7 separate regions of the Homo sapiens genome follow, and regions 1, 2, 3, 4, 5 and 6 are each linked to region 7. The links are contacts of gene promoters, found by promoter capture Hi-C in blood cells and fetal thymus (Javierre and others, 2016). All regions are on one chromosome and are shown on one strand. Each heading gives the region's core, a stretch centred on a gene start or on the middle of the fragment in contact. The rest is flanking DNA. Distances are from core to core; before and after follow the strand shown. Region 1 has its middle 28 kb from the start of VPS54. Region 2 has its middle 10 kb from the start of VPS54. Region 3 holds the start of SLC1A4 (solute carrier family 1 member 4). Region 4 overlaps LOC124907774 (a long non-coding RNA gene). Region 5 overlaps PELI1 (pellino E3 ubiquitin protein ligase 1). Region 6 overlaps SLC1A4 (solute carrier family 1 member 4). Region 7 holds the start of AFTPH (aftiphilin).

Region 1 (3,605 bases), core at 440-2,939, 480 kb after region 7:
TACAAAAATTAGCCAGGTGTGGTGGCGCATGCCTGTAGGCCCAGCTACTTGGGAGGCTGAGGCAGAATTGCTTGAACCTGGGAGGTGGAGGTTGCAGTGAGCTGAGATCGCACCATTGCACTCCAGCCTGGGCAACAAGAGCGAAACTCCATCTTAAAAAAAAAAAAAAAAAAAATATTCCCAGGTTGCTCCTTGGGATTTTTGCAGGAGGCCAAAAATGGGAGCAGGCCTAGCACAGTGTCTATCTCATTGCATAAAAGCTTGAATTGTTTGTTTGTTCTGTCTTTGGTGGGGACAGTGTGCCCAAGAAAAGGAAGAACATTTCCCAAACTCAGAAAAAAGAAAGCAAAGGCATTTGGGACATGCCACCCCAAAATATGCTACTTTGGTATACTAATTATTTGAAGCTGAAGACACTTGAAAGACAGCAAATGCAGGGAGAGGCTTTCTCTGAACTCTCCCTTACCTGCCTGAAGACAGATCCTCCAAAATGAACTCAGTTGTCATTAATTCCCCTCTCTGGTAGGTTAATCAACCAGGAAGATTGACTATTACAACAGGACAGAAGATTAGAAGTGGACACCACTTCTATTACATCTATAATAGAATGTAAGAGTTTGCTACAAACGATTCCATCTCCCTAAGGGCTCATTCTTTCCCCCAAATTATTTACCCTCTCCTAAGTTGTCCATATCCCTCTTCTTCTTTCCCCTACGAAGACAGTATAAGCTCCCAAATCTCACCACTTTTTTGGGTATTCATTTTTTTTTCTCTTGTGATGCCCCATCCATGCAATAAATTTGTATACCTTTTCTCCGGTTAATCTGCGTATTGTCAGTTTGTTTCACAGACTCAAATTTTAAACCTAGGAGGGTAGAGGAAAAGTCTTTCCCTCCCCTGTAAAAGCAAGAATGAGGTGCTAGTATAGGGCCCATCATTTTATGCCCCAGAGCCTCCTCTTCCTTCTCCATTCTCCACTCCCACCCTGAGACCATTCACCATCCATCAGCTACTGTGGTCTACCCCCCAACACAACTTTTAAGAGTAGGTTTTGCTTACCATTATCTTCCTGCAAAGGGTACTCACGACTCTAAACTCCTCTCCCTGAATTGTGCCGTTGTATCTGGGAATTTATCAAACTTCAAGAATTCCTTAGGGATTCCAATGTTGAGTAAACTCAAATATAAACAAGCTGACATTTACAACTAAATATCCAATATCCAAAAAGTTTACAATATAAGAAAATAAGGCCAAACACCAATAACTTCTAAGCAAAAATAGCCGAAAGACAAATGCCTTGCTGCCTGGTTTTTAGCCTTGTAGAATCTGTGGCATTGTTATGGTTGATACAATTGTAAAATATCTGCAAAACATTTGCCAGCCTCTTGATGAAACTGAGTTATTTTCTTCACTGTAAACCACGGGAGAGCCCCAGATTGCCACTCCAACATCTCCTACCTGTATTCACAAACAGGAAGATGTAGGCTATGAAAGCAGGAAAGGACAAGAATATTTTTGTTGGTGTAAGAGAAGGCTTTTTAAAAGTTGCCTCAACAGCCAAAGAAATGAAATGAAGCCTTGTATTATCTGATCCTTCTACACATTTGTGTGTGTGTGTGTGTGTGTGTAGTTTTTCAAATAACTTTTTTTTTTTTGAGGTGGAATCTCACTCTTGTCACCCAGAGTGGAGTGCAATGGCGCGATCTCAGCTCACTGCAACCTCCGCCTTCCAGTTTCAAGCGATTCTCCTGCCTCAACCTCCCGAGTAGCTGGGATTACAGCCGCCTGCCACCACACCTGGCTAATTTTTGTATTTTTAATAGAGACAGGGTTTCACCATGTTGCCCAGGCTGGTCTCGAACTCCTGACCTTGTGATCCGCCCGCCTCGGCCTCCCAAAGTGTTGGGATTACAGGCATGAGCCACGGTGCCCAGCCTCAAGTAACTTTTAAGGCAACATTTTATTTAAAATTCTGCCTCTTTAACTTTCATTTTTTTTTTTTTTTGCTTCTATAGTTTTTTATTTGCATTCATTTAACACACAATTTTATAATTTACACATTTTTAATGTCTTGAATTATTCCTTTGAGTTGTTATATAAAAATTTACCTAGTTGTTGAAGTTTAGTTTCCTATGTTTTTCATTTTAGTTCATACTGAAATAAATATGTTTGTGGAAAGTGCTTTTCTCCTTACTGCAAGTTAATCTACAATCCATTACAGTGAAGAGCATGTGGCAATGCTCAGCAAATATTATAATTTTGTATAATAAATTATCAAGAATGAGAATATGGGGTAAAACAAACATTGAAACAATTCTGGTGTAAAAAAACAACATCTTGATACAGATTACTAAATAGCTTTCTAAAATAATTCTACTTATTTGCTATGTCAACAGATAAGTTGTTTAACACATTATTTCCATCGATACATCTTTTTAAATCTTATTCATTAAGAAGAGATTAAGGTATGACAAGAATACTGGTTAAATCAAAGGACATAGAGAGTATGAATGAATATGGAGAGTGTGGGTCACATTTTCAATTTTTTTTTTTTTTTTTTTTTTTTTGAGACACAGTTTCGCTCTTGTCTCCCAGGCTAGAGTGCAATGGTGCGATCTTGGCTCACTGCAACATCCACCTCCCAGATTCAAGTGATTCTCCTGCCTCAGCCTCCCAAGTAGCTGGGATTACAGGTGCCTGCCACCATGCCCAGCTAATTTTTGTATTTTTAGTAGAGATGGGTTTCGCCATGTTGGCCAGGATGCTCTCGAACTCCTGACCTCAGGTGATCCACCTGCCTTGGCCTCCCAAAGTGCTGGGATTATAGGCATGAGCCACCTTGCCCAGCCTCAACTGTTTTTAAAATCTTGACTATAGTTTAATTTTTCATTTAAGTCCGCATTCTAACTTGCAGGGCAGAACATGTAATGGGATCAGTTAACCATCCCAATTTGAACATCTTAAATCTTGGATCGGTTTTAGCCCAAAGGACCAAAGTGGGTTTGAATTTGTTATAAGGTGAATTTCCAGCTAGCAGGGAAGGACAAGAGGCCACAGAACTTGGCCATTCAAAGTGTGGTTTGCAGACCAGCTGCGCCAGCACCACCTGGAAGCTTGTTATTAGGTTGGTGCAAAAGTTATTGTGGTTTTTGCCATCAAAACCGCAATTACTTTTGCACCAGCCTAATAGAAATGCACAGTCTTGGGCTTCAGCCCAGAGCAACTGAATCTTAATCTGCATTTCAACAAGAGCTCCAGGTGCTTCTTATGCACATTGAGTTGGAGAAGCCACCTTCTAGACAGTGAAAATTGCTACTGCCAGTTGTCTAAGGGCTTTAGTAGAAAAGATAGTTCACCATGAATATTAAAACATGAATCTAAAGGTAACAAAAAACCTTCTATAATTTTAATTTGGCTGGTTCTTTTGAAAACATTCTTTATAGTATAGTTCGGCTTTTAAAAAAGTCAAATATAGGCCGGGTGCGGTGGCTCACGCCTGTAATCCCAGCACTTTGGGATGCTGAGGCAGGAGAATCGCTTGAACCTAGGAGTTAGAGGTTGCAGTGAACTGAGATCGCACCATTGCACTCCAGCTTGGGCAACAA
Region 2 (3,594 bases), core at 158-2,657, 490 kb after region 7:
ATGCTGCCATTGGACAAACATGTTACTAATTTTTTTTTTTTTTTTTTGAGACAGAGTCTCGCTCTGTCACCCAGGCTGGAGTGCAGTGGCACAATCTCGCCTCACTGCAACCTCTGCCTCCTGGGTTCATGCCATTCTCCTGCCTCAGCCTTCCGAGTAGCTGGGACTACAGGCGCCCGCCACCACGCCCAGCTAATTTTTGTATTTTTAGTAGAGATGGGATTTCAACATGTTGGCTAGGATGATCTCGATCTCTTGACCTCATGATCCACCCACCTCAGCCTCCCAAAGTGCTGGGATTACAGGCATGAGCCACAGTGCCCAGCCTTCTTCTCAATTCTTATATTGTTAAAAATGTCTTTTTCTTGAATTGTTGCACTGACTAGAACCTCCAGTGCAATGCTGAAAAGAAGCAGTGATAGTGGACTTGCTTGTCTTTTGTACCACTGCATCTCTAGTGTCTAAAATGGAGCATGGGACTCAGTAGCTTTTCAATAAATATTTTTAAATGAATGACAGTAAAGCTGAGAGAAGTGGGAAGATTGGTTCCTGCTTGATCATTTAAGCTTCCAGATCCCACCATGTCTTAAGTCATCCCTAACCTTGGACTTCTTAATGACATGAAGCAATAAATTTGTTCTCCCTTTTTATGTTGTTTTCACCACGTTAGCCAGGATGGTCTCAATCTCTTGACCTCATGATCTGCCAGCCTTGGCTGCCCAAAGTGCTGGGATTAGAGGCATGAGCCACTGCACCCAACCTGAATCATCTTTAATCCCTACCCATTTCTTAGCTTCTTTGTCCAGCCAATCACCCAGTACTGTCAATTCTGTCTCCAAGGATATCTCTTCAATCTGTTGTTATGGACTGAATGTTTGTGTCCCACCACCCAAATTCATATGTTGAAGCCCTAATCCTCACTGTAATGGTATTTGGAGATGAGACTTTGGAAGGTAATTAGGTTTAGAAAGGGTCAGGATGGTGGGACTCCCTTGAAGGGATTAATGTCTTTATAAGAAGAGGAGGAGACTGATGTTTCTCTCTCTCTCTACCATATGAGGACATAAGTAGAAGGCAGCCATCTACAAGCCAGGAAGAGAGCCCTCACCAGAAACCTGACCATACAGGCACCCTGAGTTCAGCCTCTGGAACTGTGAGAAATAAATTTCTGGTGTTTAAGCCAACCAGTCTATGGTATTTTGTTACGGCAACCCAAGCCAACGAAGACATCTGTCTAACTGGTCTTAGTCTTTACCTGACACCTGGACCCCTTGGATAACCTTCTAATTGCAGGTGCCACACCTTCTTTTGGTCATCTCCACTAATTCACTTTCCACATAGTGGGTCAAACCGATCTTTTAAAAACATGCTTATGTCACCTCATTGCCCAAAGCCCTATTATAGTTTATAATAAAGCTCAAACTCCACCAAGACCTACACCTTCTTGTATGCTCTGGCTTTGGCCCAATTGTCTCATTTAATGCCAGCCACATTGGTCCTTTGTTTCCTCTACTAGCCTACTAGTTCTTCATGCCTCAGAGCCTCTTTCTGCTGGCTGTTTCCTCTTCACCACCACTACTCCTCTACCCTGACCAACTCCTATTCATTTTTCAGTTTAAATGTTGCTTTCTTGGGCAAGGATTCTCTATTTATCTATGTTAAATTATACTCAGCTTGACAAGCTCTCCTAACTTCTGCCTTCTCATGATACATATCCTAACTGTTGTCGAACAATTCCTATAATTGTTTAATGTCTCTCTTCTCACTCCAGATTGTAAGTTCTATGACAGCATGAACGGAACCAGTCTTGCTTACTGCTAGCTTATAGGACCCAGAACACCCTTGATAAATATCCATTGAGTGTGAATGGATATCTGGATATTTATTTAAGAATGAGGATGTGTGCTGGGGGTTAAGGAGTTCTTGTGTAGAAATATTTTTCCTACCTCTTCATTACAATAAAAGATTTAGAATGAGAATCACAATATTGGTTCCATCATTAAGGGGAATCATAATTTTGACAAATTTAACCTCATTCTGGGGGCAAGTAGTGAGTAACTGAGGTAGCCACCAATATACTGGAGCAAAATATAGGTAGGTCGGCAGGCAGTAAAGAATCAGCAATTTCCTTCTTGGATGCCATTAACCAGAGAGATATGCTGACCACCTGGAATCAAAGCAGCACTCCACTGGCATGCATGAGTGAGCCAGTTTAATCATAAAGACAAAGCCATTTATACAAGCTTTTTGTTTGCTCATTGATTTGATGTATGCTTGTTGTAGAGCTCTGCAGGGGGAAAAACTGTCAGTTGCCTGACTTTCAATTTGTAATAGACACAGAAATATGTATGCTTTGTAAATGTGTCCTTTATGCTCATTTTACATTTCTTTTGCTATGCATACTGATCTGCAAAGTAAAGTTGGGACAAACTTAGAAGAATAGAAATAGGCTTTTGCATATTTATGAAGGAAGAATACACGAAAATAGGCTATACATTTTCTAAAATACTGGATTCTTGCAACCAAACAAGAGATCTATCTTTGGACTTAAGAACTGGTAAAGAGTATTTAAAATAATAAATTAATGTATGTTGATTATTTCCTAAGTTATTAAACATCTGTTACCAAGCAAAATCTTTCCTACAAGATGGTTTTTTCTTACAAGTAATGAAAAACTTCATATTTTAGTGAAAGTTCTAACTTTTCCTTTGGGGACAGTGAGAGGAGAATACAATTTTTTTTTAATTCAAGTAATAACTAATTTCAGTTAACATAATTCTTACTTTTCCAGCTATTTGTTGTTATAGCATTTCCTCAGTATAGTGCGAGGCAAAGATCACTAGTCTTAATGTCCTTAAACCTGGTTTCTGATTGGAAATCAGCTGCCACCACTAAAACATGATCTGTCTCAGCCCTCGTCTGTCAAATGAGAGGCATCTGCTGTCCTAAAAGTCTGATTTCAGTGATGTTTTCTTTCTTTTGAGTTTATTAATTCTATTTTATATATTGGCTTAAAAGCTATTAAATAAAAGCATGGAAGGGAAAAAAATGCTGTTCTAAATATAAAGTAAGATTTTTGGAAGTAAGACTTCTACATTGAAACCAGATTCTGATTGAGAACTTTTTATTAGAGCTCAGGAATTCATAGCAGTAAAGAGAGTAAAAAAATACAGATGTTTTACTGCCTGGTGTAATGGGAACCAAAATGACCAGACAGTGGCATGAGAATTAAATGACCTTTATAATGCATTTTGGTATCCAGGAAAATCCATTACATAATTGCAATCCATTCTTATATTAATCTCTTACTTTGGATTATGTTGTTAAATTTGCCTAGTTTTATGATGCTCAGGGTTGTTTTGTCTCTATTTGGCTTGCAAAATTTTCCTCACTGCTTGATTTTTATTTTTTTCCATTTAAAAATATTATATAGTGGGGTAAGAATTTGTATCCCTTGTATTTCTACCCCTTAGGGGGTTCTTCCTGAGCAACGGCTGGTGTTGTCGCATACCCAGTTGATGTATAAGGTGGTTCTTGAGAAAATCCTTTAGGAGGCCAACCCTGGCTTCTGTTTCTCTGGCAATGTATGGCTTC
Region 3 (3,391 bases), core at 214-2,713, 470 kb before region 7:
CTCCCTCCCCTCTAGAACTCACACTTTCGCACAAAGAAAGGCCTTTGAAACACAGCACTCTGCCGTGGTCTTTACTGGGGTGGACAGCAACCTGTCCCAAGCCCCAAGCCCTCAGGAGAGGCATATTTCTGGGCAATATGTCTCACTCAACTAACCCCAGCCCTATTATCCGTGGGTCCACTGATAACTGCAGAAAATTGCCAGCTTCCTTCGCAGCCAAGGACTGTAACAGAGAAGGCCATAGATTGCAAGCCGGATGACCCAAGAGGCAAAACTTAACCAATGCTCCCAGAAGCTTTTAGGCACCATGTGGGAGAAAATGAGGCGAAGCCACTGGGGCGTGGTCGGAACATTTTTACCGGGGAGAGCAGCGCGAGAGTATAAGGAGTAAAGAACAGGCGGGGCGGCTGGCTCTTCCCTAACAAACGCCCACCTAACGGTGGGGACTGGTTCTTGCTCAAAGATGCGGCCCTGCTCTTTCGATTGTGCGGTGCGCCCCAGCTGTTTGCAAAGGTGTGGTCAGCACGCAAAAACTCCAGACGTCATTTTGATATTTTTAAAACGTTAAACGCCACCAGCAGCCAGCTAAGAATTAACTCTTAGGAGTGTATAAGCATATGGGTGTATGAACTGGAGGGCATCCGAGAACTGGCGTCTCCCACTGGGCCCTGGGAGAGGTGGAGAGTGTTACCTGGCCAGGTCGAGGAAAGAGTCCACCGTCTCTTTGGGGACAGGAGGAGGCCCCGAGTCCTCCAGCCCCAGGTCGCTGGACTGAAGGGTCTGCGCACCGGATCCTGGCTTGATGATGAACGCCAAGGCCACGGCGAGCGCCGAGGCACTCAGTGTGGTGAGGCCAAAGTAGGCGACAGCGATGCCGCCCAGACGCCCGAGGCAGCTGGCATCGAGCGAGGCGGCGCCCGACACCAGGCTGCAGACCACCAGCGGCAGGATGATCATGCGCAGCATGCGGAGCAGCATCTCGCCGGGGAAGGCCAGGTAGGTGACCTGCGTGCGGCTCAGGCTGAGCCCGCGCAACGCCGCGCCCAGGCCCGCGCCCGCCAGCACCCCGGACACGGTGAGCAGCACCAGCGCTTGGCGCCGCAGGAAGCCCGCGCAACGCCGTGCGCGTCCCGCCGCGGTCCCCGGAGCTCCGGGCCCGGCCGCAGGCCCCGCCTGAGCGCTGTCAAGGTAGCCGTTGGTCTCGTTGCTCTTCTCCATGGCGCTACACGCCGCTCCGAGCTAGAGGTGGCAGGGGACGTGGGCTCTGGCAAAAGACGGGGTTCCCAATGAATGGGTCGGTCGGCCAGTTGTGCTCCGCAGGTTCTGGGAAGCCGCCCCGGGGGTCTCCGGGCCTGGCGCAGGAGCAGGTGCGAGAAAGGCGAGGAGAGGCGCAGAGTGCGGGTTGGAGCCGCGGGCGGAGAGGATCGCGCCCAGCCTCCCTGGAGCAGCCGCCGGCTGGAGATGATGCAAACGGGAGCCGCGAACGCGGACGCAGACGGGGAAGTAGGAGGGCGCGCCAGCGGCCCCAGCCCGCTCACTTCACGCCCGCCGTCCCGCCCCCTGTGGCGCTGGCCAATCACAGCCCGGGAGCCGCCGCCGGGAGCCGCCGCCGGGAGCCTCTGGTCCCCACCCGTGTCGCGGGTGCCGCAGGGGGCGGCCGGGCGGGAGGCTCCACCCGAGGCCGCGGGGGCGCGGGCGGCGCCGGCCAATCCTGGCGCCAATAGCCGCCTACCCGCCCGGCTAACGGAGGCCGGCTCCGGGCGACCGCGGGGAAGTGCGGGCTGAAGGACCGCCCGGGCTCCTTGGCACCTGCCGGGCCCTCTCCCGCGGCCGGGATCTGAGTCCTCGGGGCCAGAGGGCCCGGGAGAACTTAGAACGCAGCGGCGTTCCTCCTCCTGAGGACTGTGGGAGGGGAGGGAGGGGAGGGGAGAAGAGAGGAGGAGAGGGGAGGATCCCTCTCTCCCGGGTGGCGCTTTCGCCCCGCGCGGCCCGCGCTCCTCTCCAGAGCTCGCCGGCCTCTCCCGCCAGGGGGCCGGGCGCGGTGAGGGGGCCCGGGGCGGTCCTGCCGTCGCGTCCCCTCCTGCGGAAGATCCCTTCTTCCAGGGGTCCTCAGGGGCTTGTGCGGTAAAGCACGCCATGGTGCCCAGCAAGGCCCCGGCCTTGAGACAAAGGACGGACCGGAGGATGGATGAATAAGGGGAGCCTTCGCACGCGCTCATTAGGGCTCTAACGCAGCCATACCGCTAGAGAAAGGGGGCTCGCTGTGCCACCAAACCCGGCGCCCCTGGGCCGCGGAACCGCGCGCACCGGGGCGCTCCTGGGCTTGTGTCCTGGGGCCATCAGGATGGGGCTGGGTCGCCCGCCAGGCAGCTGTCTGCGGTATGGGCGTTTAAGACGCAAAGCTCTTCTAGAAGAAACAGAGCTCTCACGCCACCACTTCCAGTTGGTTTCTGCCACGTAACCAAAGCTGAAACACAAGCCACTGGATTTTAACCTCTTCCGTTCCCAGGCCTGAGCCCTGGCGAGAAAACAGCGCAGACGGCGGTTTGGCCATCCTGAACGGTTCCTTATTGTTCACGTTCTATGGATTTCCTGTTTATTTCATCTTTTATTTGATATCTGCTTTGGCCACGCGAGTTACAAGGGAAACTTCTGCTGAGTCTTTTTACTGTATCACAGTTATTATATTTTTATATTTTTTTATTCTGCTTGTGAATTGTTCTTTAAAGACTTCCGTGGGTGGTCTTTTGTTTTTTCTTTTTCCTTCCTTCCTTCCTTCCTTCCTTCCTTCCTTCCTTCCTTCCTTCCTCCCCCCCTCCCTCCCTCCCTCCCTTCCTTCCTTCTTTCCTTCTTTCCCTTTCTTTCCTTTCTTTCCTCTCTTTCTGGGACAAGGTCTCGCTATGTTGCCCAGGCTGGTCTCCCAGTTCCTGGGCTTATGGGATCCTCCTTGGTAGCTGGCACCACCCACTGTGCCAGGCAAGGGAAGACTTAATTGTGGCTAACCTCAATTAAGGAGGAAGGCAATTTACTATAGATTTCTTGCTATAAAGGAGTCATCTTAAAACATGTCATGACATATTTGTGCAAATCAAAATGCCTTCATAAGGAACTTTAAGGAGCTGTCCAAATTTTGAGACAGTGAGTATTTTATTGCTTGGAGCCAGCCAGCTATTGGCTAGAACTTGTAAGGATTGTGTGTGGGGGGGGGGGGGGTGGGCGGGGGAGGTAGTGTCAGATGAAGAGCTGCACATATTTATATCTGGCTTTCCAGAATGCAGTTCATTTCTCTATGTGCACTGAAGAAAGAGTAATTCCTACAGACACACACTGTGTTTTGCCAATCAGCCCTTCCCTTTGTTTTGACTACCACGTTTATGCAAAAGACTCTCAA
Region 4 (3,802 bases), core at 264-2,763, 460 kb after region 7:
GAGTGCAGTGGCATGATCTCGGCTCACTGCAAGCTCTGCCTCCCGGGTTCAAGCAGTTCTCCTGCCTCAGCCTCCTGAGTAGCTGGGACTACAGGCGCATACCACAAAACCTGGCTAATTTTTGTATTTTTAGTAGAGACGGGGTTTCACCATGTTGGCCAGGATGCTCTCGATCTCCTGACCTTGTGATCCACCCACCTCGGCCTCCCAAAGTGCAGGCATGAGCCACTACACTGGCTTTTTTTTTTTTTTTTTGAGATGGAGTCTCACTCTTGTCGCCCAGGCTGGAGTGCAGTGGTGTGATCTCTGCTCACTGCAACCTCCGCCTCCCGGGATCAAGCGATTCTCCCGCCTCAGCCTCCTGAGTAGCTGGGATTACAGGCGCCCACCATGACATCCAGCTAATTTTTGTACTTTTAGTAGAGACAGGCTTTCACCATGTTGACCAGGCTGGTCTTGAACTCCTGACCTCAGGTGATCTGCCCCACCTGGGCCTCCCAAAGTATTGGGATTATAGGCATAAGCCACCACGCCTGGCCTATAGCTTTGATTTTTAAAAGGTTTGAAAGTATCTTTCTCAAGTCAGTGTCACTATAGGATTTATCTGGGTAGGTACAGCAGAATGGGGCTAGGAAGTAAATGACATTGTCAAGAGATTAGTTAAAAGTAATACATAATAGGCTGAGCAGGGATCTAAGTAAAGATAGAAGGGAGTCAATAAAGATTAGGAAGGAGCCTGAGTAGTCTAGTCATTTTTGTTTAGGTGTCCATCCTGCCCCAGTATGGCTTATGTACCTAAGGGAAAACAAACTCCTGTTTCAGAAGTGTGCCCTGATGTTTTAAGTCAGTGTTTCTTCATAGAGGCACTATTGGCATTTTTGGCAGACCAAAATTCCACACGACTGTCCTGTGTCTCCCCTCCCCCATCCCTCTTCCAGTAAAAGCCAGTGGTACTCCCAGTCAGAGCAACATTTCCAAATACTCTGAAGGAGGCAGTGCTGCTCCCAGTTGAGAACCTCTGATCTAAATCAGTCATCATAATCTCAACTCCCTTGTCACTGTAATTGGCTCAAAAATGGATAACTTAGTTCAGAGCTAAGCAAATTAGCACATGGCATTCCCCTAGTCACCATGATTGGTTCAGGTTGTTCTAATTAATGAAAGGCCAGGATTTTTGTTTGATGGTTAAAGACTCACTCCTCAGTTCCTCTGGACTTAATGCAGAAGCATGCAGGCTCAGTTGCTGCTGACCTCCAGCCTGTATAACCACGAGGGGAGCCAATCCCAGAATGAAGCTCACGTTGAGGGTGCGAGAGTAGAGAAAGAGAAGAAACAAGGCCCTTGGTATGTCTGTCTGGCAGGTAACCCAAGGCCTTTGCCACTGCTGAATTTTCAGTTACTTGAGTCGGTAAATGCCCTTAATGTTTAAACCAGTTAGACTTGAGTTTCCTGTAGCCTGCAAATGAAAACATACTACTTAAAAGAGGGAAGCAGAGGGAGGTTGAGTCAAGGGAGTGAAATACGGGGAAGGATATAAATGAGAGTAAGGGATACAACAGATGAATGAAGAGGCTTATGTCTTGGGTAGAAACTGAGGAATACAGGGACAATAGGTATGCTAAGTTTGGCTGGATGCGAGATTTTACAAAAATTAGTCTGGTCTCTTAGACTGGGGGTTGGGGTAATCAGAACAGTTCTAGTATTGTGTTGTGATAACCCAGTGAGGTTTGTATTACTCCAATGTATAGAAGAAGAAACTTGAGACCCACCCAAGTACCTAAAGCTAGTAGCTGGCAGAGGTAAGCCCTAGCAAATTTGATTCCAGCACCTAAGTTCTTTCCACTGCTTCCCCATTGTTATGTGATGCCAATGGGGTGGAAATAACCAGGGTGAGAACAAAAAACCCTTATTAATCCTTCCCACACCTCAATCCAGGATGAAGGGCAAGACCAAATGGGTCAGTGGGATTGTTTTCCCCTGTAAAAGCGATGGGCCACCTGTAGGGTCGGTGGTACAGTGTTTGGAGTACCATGCACAAATGGGTCATGGGCTCGCTGGAAAGGCAAGACAGACAGCTTACCCAACACCTACACAAATGAAGGGAATAACCACAAGGTACACTGAGGAGAAGTGGCTCAAAGATTCTGGTGAGATGAAAACTATTTAAGGTTAATTGCCAAGCACTGAATATCACATTCTGTGCATCTGCATGCTTCTCATTTCAGAAACTTATTTTTCCCCTTTTAATTTATTTTTGAATAGTTCATGCATGCATATGGAAAAAATGCAAAAGGTACAGAAAACGTTCCATGAGAAATAGGTTTTTCTTCCTTCTCTGTCCCTCAGTTATCTTCCCTGGAGGTAACTACTGTTGACAGACTCAATCTTTCCCCTCCGTCTCCTTCCTCCCCCTCTCTCCATTAGAGGCAGGGGTATGTCAAGCTGAGTTCTCTTTATTTGGTAGCAATACAGACCTTCCTAATGTAGCAGGGTTTAAATGTACTCACTAAAAACTAGATTTACAAAAAAAAGCAACTTCATTGTCGATAATGATTTCTTGCTGGAAAGCCCCCATTCCTAACGTAGGTGGAAACACTTGATCTTGCCAATTAAAGGTAACACAGTCTCTTTACGTTTACAACAGTTTTCCTTGGAAACTCACTCAATCTTTCAAGGTTTCTCCCTGATCCAATGGTTCTCCTCTCCCACTTCTCTTTCTTAAGATGTCATTCGGGTCTTGAAAAACTGGCAGAGCAAGTCTGTCTGCCATCATCCAGGCTCTCCCGGCCTCCCTTGATGAGGAAATTATCTCCGGCTTTTGGGCCTAGAACCATTTCCACTACTGACAGCCACGGCCCCTGCCATGGCTCTCAGTGGCAAGGACCATAAGCCTCACAACTTCTTGGCCCAAGGGCCAGGCCTCTTCCAGCCCATTCATCCCATTAGCCTTTATCATTCTACCACTGGATCTCCTAAAGACCATGCATGACCCCAAAGAACAGAAATCACTATCTCAAGCTACTTCTCTGTAGTTACCCCGGTTCCAAACAGAAAGCAGGATACATGCCTCCTCTTCTTTTAGTGCACCCTCCACTCATCTGGGGCAACCCTGTGCTGGTACTCTCTGAATGTCCCAAATTCCTGCCTGCTGCTTTTTTTTTTTTTTTTTTTTTTTTGGGACAGAGTCTCGCTCTGTTGCCCAGGCTGGAGTGCAGTGACGCGATCTCAGCTCATTGCAACCTCCGCCACCCAGATTAAAGCAATTCACCTGCCTCAGCTTCCCGAGTAGCTGGGATTACAGGTGCCCGCCACCACGCCCAGCTAATTTTTTGTATTTTTAGTACAGATGGTTTCACCATGTTAGCCAGGATGGTCTCGATCTCCTGACCTCATGATCCGCCCACCTTGGCCTCCCCAAGTGCTGGGATTACAGGCGTGAACCACTGCACCCGGCCTCTGCCTGCTGCTTTTATCTTCCCTTCCAGTCATGAGAAAGTGGCTCTGACATCATATCCTGTGTTCTTCTTGGCTGTATCTGTGATCTGTTCAGGGGCACTTTTCCAAGTTCTGCCTCACTAGCATATACAAATACATTTTTTTCTTTCAACAATGTCTGGTTTTTGACACTCAAAGCCCTTGATTTCAAACTATTGTTTTGCTATGAATTAATCCTATTTTGAAATTCTAAGCTAAGGGATGACTTATCCAATCTTGGCTGGGTTTTTTTTTCTCCCTGTGACTGAATGCATGCCATTGACTCAAGGGGGAAGCCATGGAGACAAAGACTTACTGGGCAGGCAAA
Region 5 (3,592 bases), core at 172-2,671, 430 kb after region 7:
ATTACTTCATCAGAGACAGTCTGACTGATTAGTTTTCAAGAGTATAGATGCCCCCAGCGTTAAGTATGGTAAACTTCAACTTTAGAAATTTCAGAGACCTAATGTTCTCTCCTTATTGTGCCCTTCTTGAATGGATTTTCCACTGTGCTCTTTGAATGGGTTTATAGGTATTTTTTTTTTTCCCTCAGATTGGCCGGTCGACTGAAAGCCCCATTGATTTTGTAGTAACTGACACGGTTCCTGGAAGTCAAAGTAATTCTGATACACAGTCAGTACAAAGCACTATATCAAGATTTGCCTGCAGAATCATATGTGAACGGAATCCTCCCTTTACAGCACGGATTTATGCTGCAGGATTTGACTCATCAAAAAACATCTTTCTTGGGGTAAAAAGCTTTTTTTCTAAATGATGCTTTCTTTTATACTAGCTTTCATTCCAAGTTACAAGTTACAAGTTGGAAGCTCACTGCTATTATTTCTACTAGGAGAAGGCTGCCAAATGGAAGACATCAGATGGACAGATGGATGGCTTGACCACTAATGGTGTTCTTGTGATGCATCCACGCAATGGGTTCACAGAAGACTCCAAGCCTGGAATATGGAGAGAAATATCGGTGTGTGGAAATGTATTTAGCCTACGTGAAACCAGATCGGCTCAGCAGAGAGGAAAAATGGTAAATACTGAATGGTATTTTCTTAATTAGCTACAATAAACACATAGGATGAGTAGAACTGAATGCATTACATACATTCCAGAAAACTCTTAAATCTATTGCCAACACAGAATACTAAGTCTATCAAACACTGACTACCAAATTCTATACTAGAGGACAGTCTCTTTAATATTTCGTTTAGTAGCCGGGCGCGGTGGCTCACACCTGTAATCCCAGCACTTTGGAAGGCCGAGGCAGATGGATCACCTGAGATCAGGAGTTCGAGACCAGCCTGAGCCACATGGAGAAACCCTGTCTCTACTAAAAATACAAAATAAGCCAGGCATGGTGGCGCATGCCTGTAATCCCAGCTACTCGGGAGGCTGAGGCAGGAGAATAGCTTGAACCTGGCAGGCAGAGGTTGCGGTGAGCCAAGATTGCGCCATTGCACTCCAGCCTGGGCAACAAGAGCATTTTAGTAAACTCTGGAAGTTCATTCTTCTGTCATATCATGTTAATATATTTTAAAACCTAAGCTTTCTTAAACTAAACAGCACTCCCTCTGATCTTTTCTGTTGCCATCTGTATATCTTAAACCATATTTACCTCATTAAAAATATTAGACTTATTGATTAGCCAGATGTTTTAATCATAAGTTGTCTTTACCATAAGGCTAAAAAGAAATATGTTAATGTTTGATATTTTATCCTTGATTTTCAAACTTAACATTTTTCATAACTACTGTCAGTTTCTTGAATATTTAGTGAAAATCCTAGGAAACCTCATTTCTTGAGTAAGGAGTACTTAAAACCAAAACACTTATGTAAAAATCCAAAACAGAGTGGTGAATATGTTTTTCAACTCTTGTCTCCTCTAGGTGGAAATTGAAACCAATCAGTTACAAGATGGCTCGTTAATTGACCTCTGTGGTGCAACATTGTTATGGCGTACTGCAGAAGGCCTTTCCCACACTCCTACCGTGAAGCATTTAGAAGCTTTAAGACAGGAAATCAATGCAGCACGACCTCAGTGCCCTGTAGGGTTCAACACACTAGCATTTCCTAGTATGAAGAGGAAAGACGTTGTAGATGAAAAACAACCATGGGTATATCTAAACTGCGGCCATGTACATGGCTATCATAACTGGGGAAACAAAGAAGAACGTGATGGAAAAGATCGTGAATGTCCTATGTGTAGGTCTGTTGGTCCCTATGTTCCTCTGTGGCTTGGATGTGAAGCTGGATTTTATGTGGACGCCGGCCCTCCAACCCATGCGTTTAGCCCGTGTGGGCATGTGTGTTCAGAAAAGACAACTGCCTATTGGTCCCAGATCCCACTTCCTCATGGTACTCATACTTTTCATGCAGCCTGTCCCTTTTGTGCACATCAGTTGGCTGGTGAACAAGGCTACATCAGACTTATTTTTCAAGGACCTCTAGACTAACAGACCATTGTCTTGCAGGACTACATTATAAATTTATAAGCTAAGTGAGTTGGGTTTTCGAACCTGTTGTCCACGTCACAGTTTTTCTGCTCTGGTCATTTGCATTAAGATGAAGAATTTTTTAAAACATTTATAATAAATAGTAGCAATTTCTGAGCAAAAATCTGGGAAACTCAAGCAAAGGAATTTCTGAAAGTATCAGTCTTCTGAATTCTGAGTTTTGAAAATATATTTTGAGGAGAAAAAGACATAGTCTAATTTGATGCCTTCCTTTTAGTGTTTTTGAATCACCTATCCTCAGTGCTGAAATTGTTTTGTATAACTGAGGGTACTGTTGGTTCAAACTATGTTAGTTTACAGTTTGTTGCAAACATTGTAAAATACAGCGACATGTATATTAACTTTTTTCTATTTATCTTTATTATAGAAAATACCTTAGAATGTTCTTGATAGAGTAGCATGGTAACGATGGTGTCACACCCTTGGTGTGAATGGTAGCTTAGTGAGCAACCTAGCTCAAGGATTTGCAAAGTTAGGAAGAAGGACGAGAGAGCCTCTCTCCCCACCCCAATCTAAATATGGAATTTGGTAAATTAGAATACTTTGTAATTTGTAAGACCAAATTCATACTAATTACCCGCGTGAAAGGTGTTTGTTTTTAACAACATTGAAGATAATCAGGAAAGATTTTTTCTTAATGTTTCTCTCGAGCGTAGTACTATAACAAAAACTTAATGCTAAGAAACATTTTATATGCTCCTTTGGATATGCAATTTAATCTAGATTATCTATTTTTCTCCCATGATAACTAATCTGTTTTTAGTATCAGCAGCATTTGGCAAGTTTATTTTTTGGATATAAACTGTGGTTCATCTGTTCACTGTTTCTAGAAAAAAATCATTGCCATAAGAAAAAGTATAAATTAGCAAGAAAGGAGAGTGACTTGATTTGCTTTTGGAAAAAGAAATGCTTAATTAATTATTCTGTATTTGGCCTTATTCGGGCATTAGGAAATCTAGAGATCTAAAGGGTTGAATGACAATAGTGCCCCCGTTTTTAGCAGACCAGCCTTAACTCTGGGTTTGAATCCTAAGGAGATTGCCACAGTGAGACTTAAGGAAATGTTTGGTTGGCAGATGAGCACCAATGACTGCAGCGTGGAGTGACGCACTGCATGGTCTGTTTATTCTCTAATTCCAATATGTCTTTTGCTTCCAGAAGCAAGAAAAGTTTCTTCTCTCCCCTCCTTCCCACCCTTTTTTCAAAGGCACCACAAGTATAGACAGTTGCACTACATCAAATCTTTTTTTGACACTTGTAGAAACCAGTACACTTTTAGATTAGACAGTATCTTCTTTTAATATTTTGATTTGTTTTCCTTTAGTTTGAAAAGTTGTATAATACTTAACTGACTGTAGCAAAGTTTTATATGTGGTAGCATACCTTTAATTTATCCTATTACAAAACTGTTCTGAATTTTCTTTTGGTTTTTAAA
Region 6 (3,559 bases), core at 411-2,910, 490 kb before region 7:
CACTCTAGCCTGGACCACAGAGTAAGACCCTGACTCTAATAAGTAAACAAATAAACAAACATATTGGGATAATAGTGTGGATACGGTTTTGTGTCTAGCTTTTCTTCCACTGAATAATACACTGTGGGAGTTTCCCTTCTTTTTCTCATTTCAACGCTACTTTACTGCGGATGTTAATCTTCATATGTGTTCCATTGCCATCGGCAAATATAAATACCATCTCAAAGAAAATATCACTATCCTTTCCAGAAGCTAGCTTGTTGTGTTATAGATTAGCCAATACCATTCCCCTGTCCCTGGAGCTCAGAGGAAGTATTGTGCACATTTTGAAGAGAGGGAAAAATGTGATCTTCCCTGAGGGCACTGGGGAGCTGACTCCCTGCAGAGTGCCGTCCTGCTGTCTGCAGAATCAGAGGGGATGGGGTGGCTGGCAGGCCTGTGTGACTTCAGGTCTCCACTGGGCAGCCGGCTTGGTGCCCTGTTTCCCTGTTCCTGGCCAAGCACCTCTTTGATGCCTCTTCTCCACGCACAGGAGGTGGCTGGGTGAGGAAGGAGAGGGGGCCTCTGTCAGCTCTGGTCCTGTCCAGCTGGCCAGCTCAGGGACGGAGTTCCCTCTGATGAGGTGTCTGCGCAATGCAGGTCTCTTTTGCAGATTTTACCCTCATTGCTCTGAGAAGCCCCTTCAAGTTGGAAAAACCACCATTCCCACCTGCAGCAGGCCAGTCCGTGAGCCCAGTGCCAGGCCCTGCCTGTGACGAACCTGGTCTGGAGTGTCTTTCTTTGCTGACATGAATTGAATGTTTTACCACGTGCTCATTATTCTGTGTGCTGTTCCCGTGCTAACTCGCTCAATCTTCCCCACAACCCTGGTGTGGGTGCTATGATCATTCCCATTTTACAGATGAGCAGACCAAAGCACACACAGTGCACATTACACAACTACTAGATGGCAAATCTGGGATTTCAATCCAGGCACCTGGGCTCCAGGGCTCATTTTCTTACCCACAGGCTCTACTGTCTCAACTTTAGTACCTCAGGCAGCCTTCCCTATAAAATAGATATTATTCATGCCTGCAAAAGGTATCATGTGACTCAAGGAATCCATGCACAGAAACTGTTTTGTGTCTTCACAGCAGCCCCAGAGATGTGGTCTGGATCACACCTTCTTCCCTACCTCCTCCTCTGCTGAGCCCAAGCCCAAGTCACTCACATCAGCATGGTTCATCCTCCCTCCCCTCACAGAAATCACTCCTTAGAATCTTCCAGGCCAGGGACAATCATTCCCAAAGGATCACTGCTCCATCGACTTATTACTCCTATGCAGTCAGCAACTCCATAGACCCTCGTGTCCCTTGGGCCTGCGCTGAGGGCCTCAGCTGTGGACCCCTGCTTTACTGGATGCTATAAGCAAGTTCTTGGTAATGACATCTCATGGTCATTCCTGGATGTTTGGGGGCATGTGACTCTCATATTGTTTAATTTTTCCTAGCTCTAAATCTTGCCCTTTTAGCTCCACTGTAGCCTCCTTCACAAGGCTGGAGTGTGTCTGAAGTTTCTCTGCATGGCCCAGGCCCAGCAGTGCTAAGCTCCTAGGGAACTCAGTGCAGACTCTTTTTGGTGTTCTCAGGACTTGTTACTTACACAATCCAGTCCACAGCCAGGATCAGAGGCAGGTCATGAGTAGGCAGCCCAATGGCCTCCAGGATAATGGCAATGGTGAGGACCCCTCCAGCTGGCACGCCTGCTGCTCCAACACTGGACGCTGTGGCAGTCACTCTAAGGGATGGCAGAGCAGGGCCAGCCATTAACATAGAGCGTGGAGTGGACACAGAGAAATGCAGACCATGCAGCTGCAATGTGGCTGGAAACTAAAAACCGCCCCACCATAGGCTCTGCTGGCTACGCCCTTGAGAGTCAACACACGCTCTTCAAGTAATGAATCCCCACTGTCCTCATTTTATGAGCGAGACACCAAGTTGTGGTGAGATTGGTTTTTCAAAGGAAATCACAAGAAAAGCCTTCAGTTTTGAGCCAGGGAAAGAATGAGGAACTTACAGAATGGTGAAAATCTGTCCTGCGTTGAGCTCTACGTTGTTGAGTTGCGCAATGAACACCGCGGCCACACACTGGAAGATGGCTGCTCCGTCCATGTTCACGGTGGCCCCGATGGGGAGAATAAACCTGCTGATCCTCTTGTCCACACCATTGTTCTCTTCAATGCACTTCATCATAGAGGGAAGGGTCGCTGAGCTAGAAATGGGAAAAACAAACCGCCAGACATGACAACAGTCCGAGGCAGGCTAACATGTGTCTTGTCTCAGACCCCAGAACAGAGCAATTAGCACCATCTTCGTTTCTGGCTTTCTTCTCTTGAAATAAGGGAAAAAACAGAATCACTTTAAAACTTCTGTCACAACATGAGGCTTTGGCAACTCCCAAGATACTTAAAATATGACTGCCTTCATTTACCTATTCTGTCATTTACTTGGATTCACGTGTTCCAAGTTTCTTAAGAACTGCACATTGCCTCCCGGTGCAAAACGTTCCCGAGAGAACAAACAACTAGTTTCTCTACATGTGCATCTCCTCTCTTGAGTGTTCCCCTCCCAAAAGTAAATGGTAAACTATGATTTTTTTTTCTTTTAGGCCAAAACCCAGAAATGGCTCTGTGAGCTTGGAAGAATAACTAAGTAGATAACCATAAGAACAGTACCTGCTCCCTCTAGCTGGCTCTGCGGGCTCTGCAGAGGTTAGTTGGTGCAGCTGAGAAACAGGTTTTTGTCTAGGCCAGAGGAACTTCCTTCCCTAATTTTTTTTTTTTTTTTACTCCCACCTCTGTGTTATATAAATAGCCATCCAGATTGGGAGGAAGTGAGCAGTAGAGGCAAAACTAAATGTGTGAATGAAACGACGTGCTGCCGTCCTTTGAAAGTTTTAACATATTTGGAAAACCCAGTGTTTTTTTTTTTTTTTAAGGTTTTCCAGTGAATGACAGGATGCATCTCTTGTGCCAAATGAGACAATCCCACACTATTGTGGACTCCTAGAGGGCTAAGCATCCATCCCTCACCACGGTGCCTCAGACTCGTTTTCTAATTCACATATCCAGAAAGGGAGAATTGGGCAGGAACCATTCTAGAAACTTCCCTGCAATGCATTTTTGAGTTAGGTGGGCTGCCTTCTTTTACTCAGGGAAAGGTCTTCCTAATTAGGGTGAGGGACCCGCAGCTGGGCTAACTAATGATCTGCTGACCTCTAAGGAGCAAGAGGGAGAAGAGAATGAGGTAACTTCAGTAGAATAGTAAATGAAACAGAAACCCACCCCAGGGGAATACAGAAAAGCTTTGGGGCTGGTCATTTTAAGAAATCATGTGAGGCTTGGTGTGGCTGTGCATGCCTGTAATCACAGCTATTCGGAAGGCCGAGGTGGGAGGATCACTTGAGCCCAGGAGTTCGAGACCAGCCTGGGCAATCACGGGAAGATCCTGTCTCTTAAAGAAGAAAAAACAAAAAAATAACAGAAGACCGATTTAGAGTTTTCCAGGAATTAAAGTATGTC
Region 7 (3,337 bases), core at 281-2,780:
TTTAGGAGACTACCACAGATACTTTGTTTAAACAAATATACCTCTGCGAAGTGTTAAAAATGACTACTAAAAAAGCCAACATTTAAACTGGTAAAGCATATAAAATGTACGTGACTGTGTTAATTATATTAACATAATAATGTTGAAACATTTGTTGTCCCTAGAGTTTAGCATATATTTTAATGTCTAAGAGGTTAACTGAAAGCAACAATTAAGTGTAGCATCAAAGATAAACTCTGTGTCTCCCCTCCACCAAATAAAATCCTCGGAATAGGAGGTGGAAGGAAGACTTACACTGTAGGAAAAGTTGAAAACCAAAGTTCTACTTTACTTCTCCTAAAGTGAGAACTTTGAAACGGAACCATTACTTTTGTTTCATCCCCCCGCCCAGTAAAAAATTTACATGTATGAGTCAGTTCTTCCCTCGGCCCCAACAGAAAAGATTCAGTATAACCAAGCTATAACTTGCACAAAGCAACAAGGAAAAAAAAACCTTGCTATCCCCATTACTTTCCTAATAGAGCAAGGACCCTACCACCCCTCACTCCATACTCTGCCTCTGCCCCAAGCAAGACGCAGCACCTGCCAAACCAGGCACTTAAGGAATATGGTCCAACTTTTCAAACGCAAACTGGAGAGGAGACGCAGATAATTTCTTGAAGAGTGCAAGAAGACAGCAGAAAAGGTACTCTGAGGAAGGGATGCGTGAGCTTTGGGGCTGTCCCCTCTGCCTGTTGGAGGATTCCAAATTCGCTTGCTTCAGAGACCCTTGGAAGCAGCACACTCAGGTCGCGGCCAGCCTCGGGCCTCGGTGAAGGAGGCAGTGTTTACACCTGTCACGAGGGAGGGGGAAGGAGAGCGAAGAAGCCCAAGCAAAGCCCCAAACTTCTGAACAGCTCCCTGGAGAACGCAGCCAGCGCGGAGCTTTGGGAGGTGGAAGCAAAGGGGCAGGGAGAGCCGGCGGTGGCCGGGGAGGGAAGGACTCCCACTTACCCGGCCGGTGCCCGGGATGGCGAGGAGGGGGCCGTGCGCTTCGGGCGCCACCAGCGGCGTTCCCGCACTCGCCGCAGAAGAGAGCAGAGCCGGGAGCCCGCAGGCCCGCAGAGCCAGCTCCGTCCTCACAGCTCCCGGCTCCGCGGCGGGCAGATGCTCCCGGCCCGGGTGAGGGTCTGGCTGCTGGGCCGGGCCTGGTCCCCGCACCCTCTTTCCCCGGCGCAGCTAGGGGAGCGGAGCGGCGGCGCTTACCTGGCTCCTTCGGGGCGGCTGCGATGGGCATGGCTCAGGGGCCCGGGGAGGAACTGACTCCCCGGGGAAGGACCGTCTATTCCGACGCGGAACTGGTGAGAGCGGAAGGCCGGCTGCTCACAGCCCTGTCAGCGCAGCAGCACCATGGACGCCCACCCGGAGTTTCACCGCTGCCGCGGGACCCCCATCCCACTACCCTCCGCCCTCTTCCGCCGCCGCCGCCGCCTCCTCCACCTCCTCCGCGGAGACCCCCCGCCCACTCCACACACTCTCCCATCATGCAGCGGGGGAACCGCTGCCGCCGACACGTCACTTCCGGGCGCAGGTGGCTAGGTCGGGACCGGGCGCTGGTGGGTGCTGTGGGGTGGGGGAGGACACTCCAGGGGAATTGGTGTCACAGAACGCTTATCCCTGCGCAGGCGCTGTCGTGCAGAGCGCCGACCGCCATTTTGGGTGCGGGCAAGCTGCCCTTTCCTTTTACTTCCTTGCGAGTCATAGAGCTGTAGGGGGATAGACGTCTTCCCGCACTCAGGCGCCGGTTGAGGCTGCGCTCCTGGCGAAGGACAGGTGCTCCTTTCAGCCGGTTAACGTTCAGCTCAAGACCGGATTAAGTCTCTTGCTCTCCAAATAAAATTGTAAAGGTTTGGAAATATAGAACCACATTTTTACCAAAAACCTACTAGAGAGCATTCGTCAGCTTGCCCTTTTCGCCCCGAAAAACGACTTTTTCATTCACAGCCTGTCTCTTCCTCTTTTTAAATTTATGCCGACAGAGGAAGAAGCTGATATTTAACAAATAACAAGAGGTTGCGATAAATAGAATTTAAGGTGGGAAAGCAGCCGCCAAACTGACAAATCGTCTTCGAGACCGACAAGAAAATAGTAGTCCGGAATTTGGCTAATGGATGGAGAAGGTGGTCGTTTTTCATAGACCCTTACGGAGAATATCTAGTGAAGCTAAAGAGATCACCATAAACTTATGCATTCAAACGCATTTCTGGAACAGAGGTCGTAACCGATTTTGTTTCCATCATCAGTCCTGAACAGTTGATTATTTATATAATCAACTGTTATTTATATAAAGGTAATAAAAATATTACCTTTCCTCCTCCTTTACAATGAATATCTGTTAGAACACCTGCCAGTGTAACAATCAGACTACAAGGCTACAGGATTATGATTACTGTCTCGGATGATGAGCCCGGGGTCCTACAAATCATGACCCCCGCCGGCCCCTCATTCTGCCCATATTTGCCAAACGTCTGCATCAGTAATTTGAATAATTTAAAATAGTTCCAAAACAGCAAAGCTCAGCAGTTACGCAAAGAAACAAGAATGGAAAACATCCCCTCAGGCACAGAGAAGTGTCCACCCCTTTGGGTGGAGGAATTATACAAATCAGGAGAAAGATAAGGACAATAGCAGTTCATCACGATTTATCCCGCCTCTGCAATGTTCTAGACAAATTAACTCGGAGCGCTCCAATGGACCCGCATTTGTCTCTTTACTATTCAATCGCTGTAAGATATACGGAGACTGCATCACTTTAAATGGGAGTATCAATTGCTTTGTGGTTATGCTGGATTTTGTGTTATTGCTCAGTCACTAAAGTAAGAAAAATCTATATGGCTTGTCAAATTTATGCCTATTGTATTTCGCCCCCTGCTGGTTTAGCTCGTGTGCAAGCTTGAATTTGTGTGTGTGTAGAAACTAGAAATTGATTTTAAACGAACACATGCTTGTTTTCATTTTACAGCTCTACTAAACAGAAATATCAAAATAAGAACATATGACTAGACCTTAAAGCAGACCCTACACTAAGAACATGTTTAAACTAAATGAATTTAAACTGCACTCCAGCCTGCGCGACAGAGTGAAACCCTGTCTAAAAAAAAATTAAATTAAATTGCACACCCCCCATCAGCTTACAATTTTGTAATAGGGAAATTGAGTACCTATTTGGCCAACTAACTTGTAATTGGTAATCTTACATGTAATTCCGAAGACAGTGCCCTAATGCTCATGACATTTTATTACAAAGGGAAAGTATTTGAGTGTTTTTAAGGTGATAAATCTGTGGGAAATATAAAGT

What was found. The method cuts DNA at HindIII sites, captures the fragments that hold promoters and counts their contacts. A CHiCAGO score of 5 or more calls a contact.
Region 1: a fragment that was not itself captured here is called in contact with the fragment with the promoter of AFTPH in region 7 in 15 of 17 cell types (naive CD4 T cells, activated CD4 T cells, total CD4 T cells and 12 more); the score reaches 15.2 in naive CD4 T cells.
Region 2: a fragment that was not itself captured here is called in contact with the fragment with the promoter of AFTPH in region 7 in 10 of 17 cell types (naive CD8 T cells, naive CD4 T cells, megakaryocytes and 7 more); the score reaches 9.2 in naive CD8 T cells.
Region 3: a contact is called between the fragment with the promoter of SLC1A4 here and the fragment with the promoter of AFTPH in region 7, in 1 of 17 cell types (fetal thymus). The highest score is 8.0, in fetal thymus.
Region 4: a contact is called between a fragment that was not itself captured here and the fragment with the promoter of AFTPH in region 7, in 3 of 17 cell types (total CD4 T cells, naive CD4 T cells and activated CD4 T cells). The highest score is 6.3, in total CD4 T cells.
Region 5: a contact is called between a fragment that was not itself captured here and the fragment with the promoter of AFTPH in region 7, in 1 of 17 cell types (activated CD4 T cells). The highest score is 6.6, in activated CD4 T cells.
Region 6: a contact is called between a fragment that was not itself captured here and the fragment with the promoter of AFTPH in region 7, in 2 of 17 cell types (total B cells and monocytes). The highest score is 6.1, in total B cells.

The regions. Positions count from the first base shown.
Region 1 is chr2:64,045,708-64,049,312 of GRCh38, reverse strand. No RefSeq gene overlaps it. Among named protein-coding and RNA genes, the nearest start is that of VPS54, 28 kb to the right of the region's middle. The HindIII fragment of the contact is 2,853 bases long and covers 263-3,115 here.
Region 2 is chr2:64,028,085-64,031,678 of GRCh38, reverse strand. No RefSeq gene overlaps it. Among named protein-coding and RNA genes, the nearest start is that of VPS54, 10 kb to the right of the region's middle. The HindIII fragment of the contact is 1,677 bases long and covers 569-2,245 here.
Region 3 is chr2:64,987,471-64,990,861 of GRCh38, reverse strand. SLC1A4 (solute carrier family 1 member 4) reads right to left here and starts at 1,463. Exons shown (of 8, transcript NM_003038.5): 1 at 692-1,463. The coding sequence starts at 1,218. RefSeq lists silencers at 1,064-1,243, 1,454-2,153 and an enhancer at 877-1,461. The HindIII fragment of the contact is 3,825 bases long and covers 298-3,391 here.
Region 4 is chr2:64,064,681-64,068,482 of GRCh38, reverse strand. All of the region lies in intron 1 of LOC124907774 (a long non-coding RNA gene), which reads left to right. Among named protein-coding and RNA genes, the nearest start is that of VPS54, 47 kb to the right of the region's middle. The HindIII fragment of the contact is 5,792 bases long and covers 1-3,802 here.
Region 5 is chr2:64,093,207-64,096,798 of GRCh38, reverse strand. PELI1 (pellino E3 ubiquitin protein ligase 1) reads left to right here. Exons shown (of 7, transcript NM_020651.4): 5 at 189-386; 6 at 486-674; 7 at 1,531-3,592. The coding sequence ends at 2,097. Among named protein-coding and RNA genes, the nearest start is that of PELI1, 49 kb to the left of the region's middle. The HindIII fragment of the contact is 459 bases long and covers 1,192-1,650 here.
Region 6 is chr2:65,016,762-65,020,320 of GRCh38, reverse strand. It overlaps SLC1A4 (solute carrier family 1 member 4), which reads right to left. Exons shown (of 8, transcript NM_003038.5): 6 at 2,056-2,250; 7 at 1,642-1,776. Among named protein-coding and RNA genes, the nearest start is that of LINC02576, 12 kb to the left of the region's middle. RefSeq lists an enhancer at 3,216-3,295. The HindIII fragment of the contact is 3,369 bases long and covers 1-3,344 here.
Region 7 is chr2:64,522,521-64,525,857 of GRCh38, reverse strand. AFTPH (aftiphilin) reads right to left here and starts at 1,530. Exons shown (of 10, transcript NM_203437.4): 1 at 1,246-1,530. AFTPH-DT (AFTPH divergent transcript) reads left to right here and starts at 1,703. Exons shown (of 1, transcript NR_136167.1): 1 at 1,703-3,337. MIR4434 (microRNA 4434) reads right to left here and starts at 345; the gene lies at 293-345. RefSeq lists enhancers at 651-1,151, 1,152-1,652, 1,754-1,973 and silencers at 1,024-1,273, 1,284-1,363, 1,394-1,553. The HindIII fragment of the contact is 6,179 bases long and covers 1-2,933 here.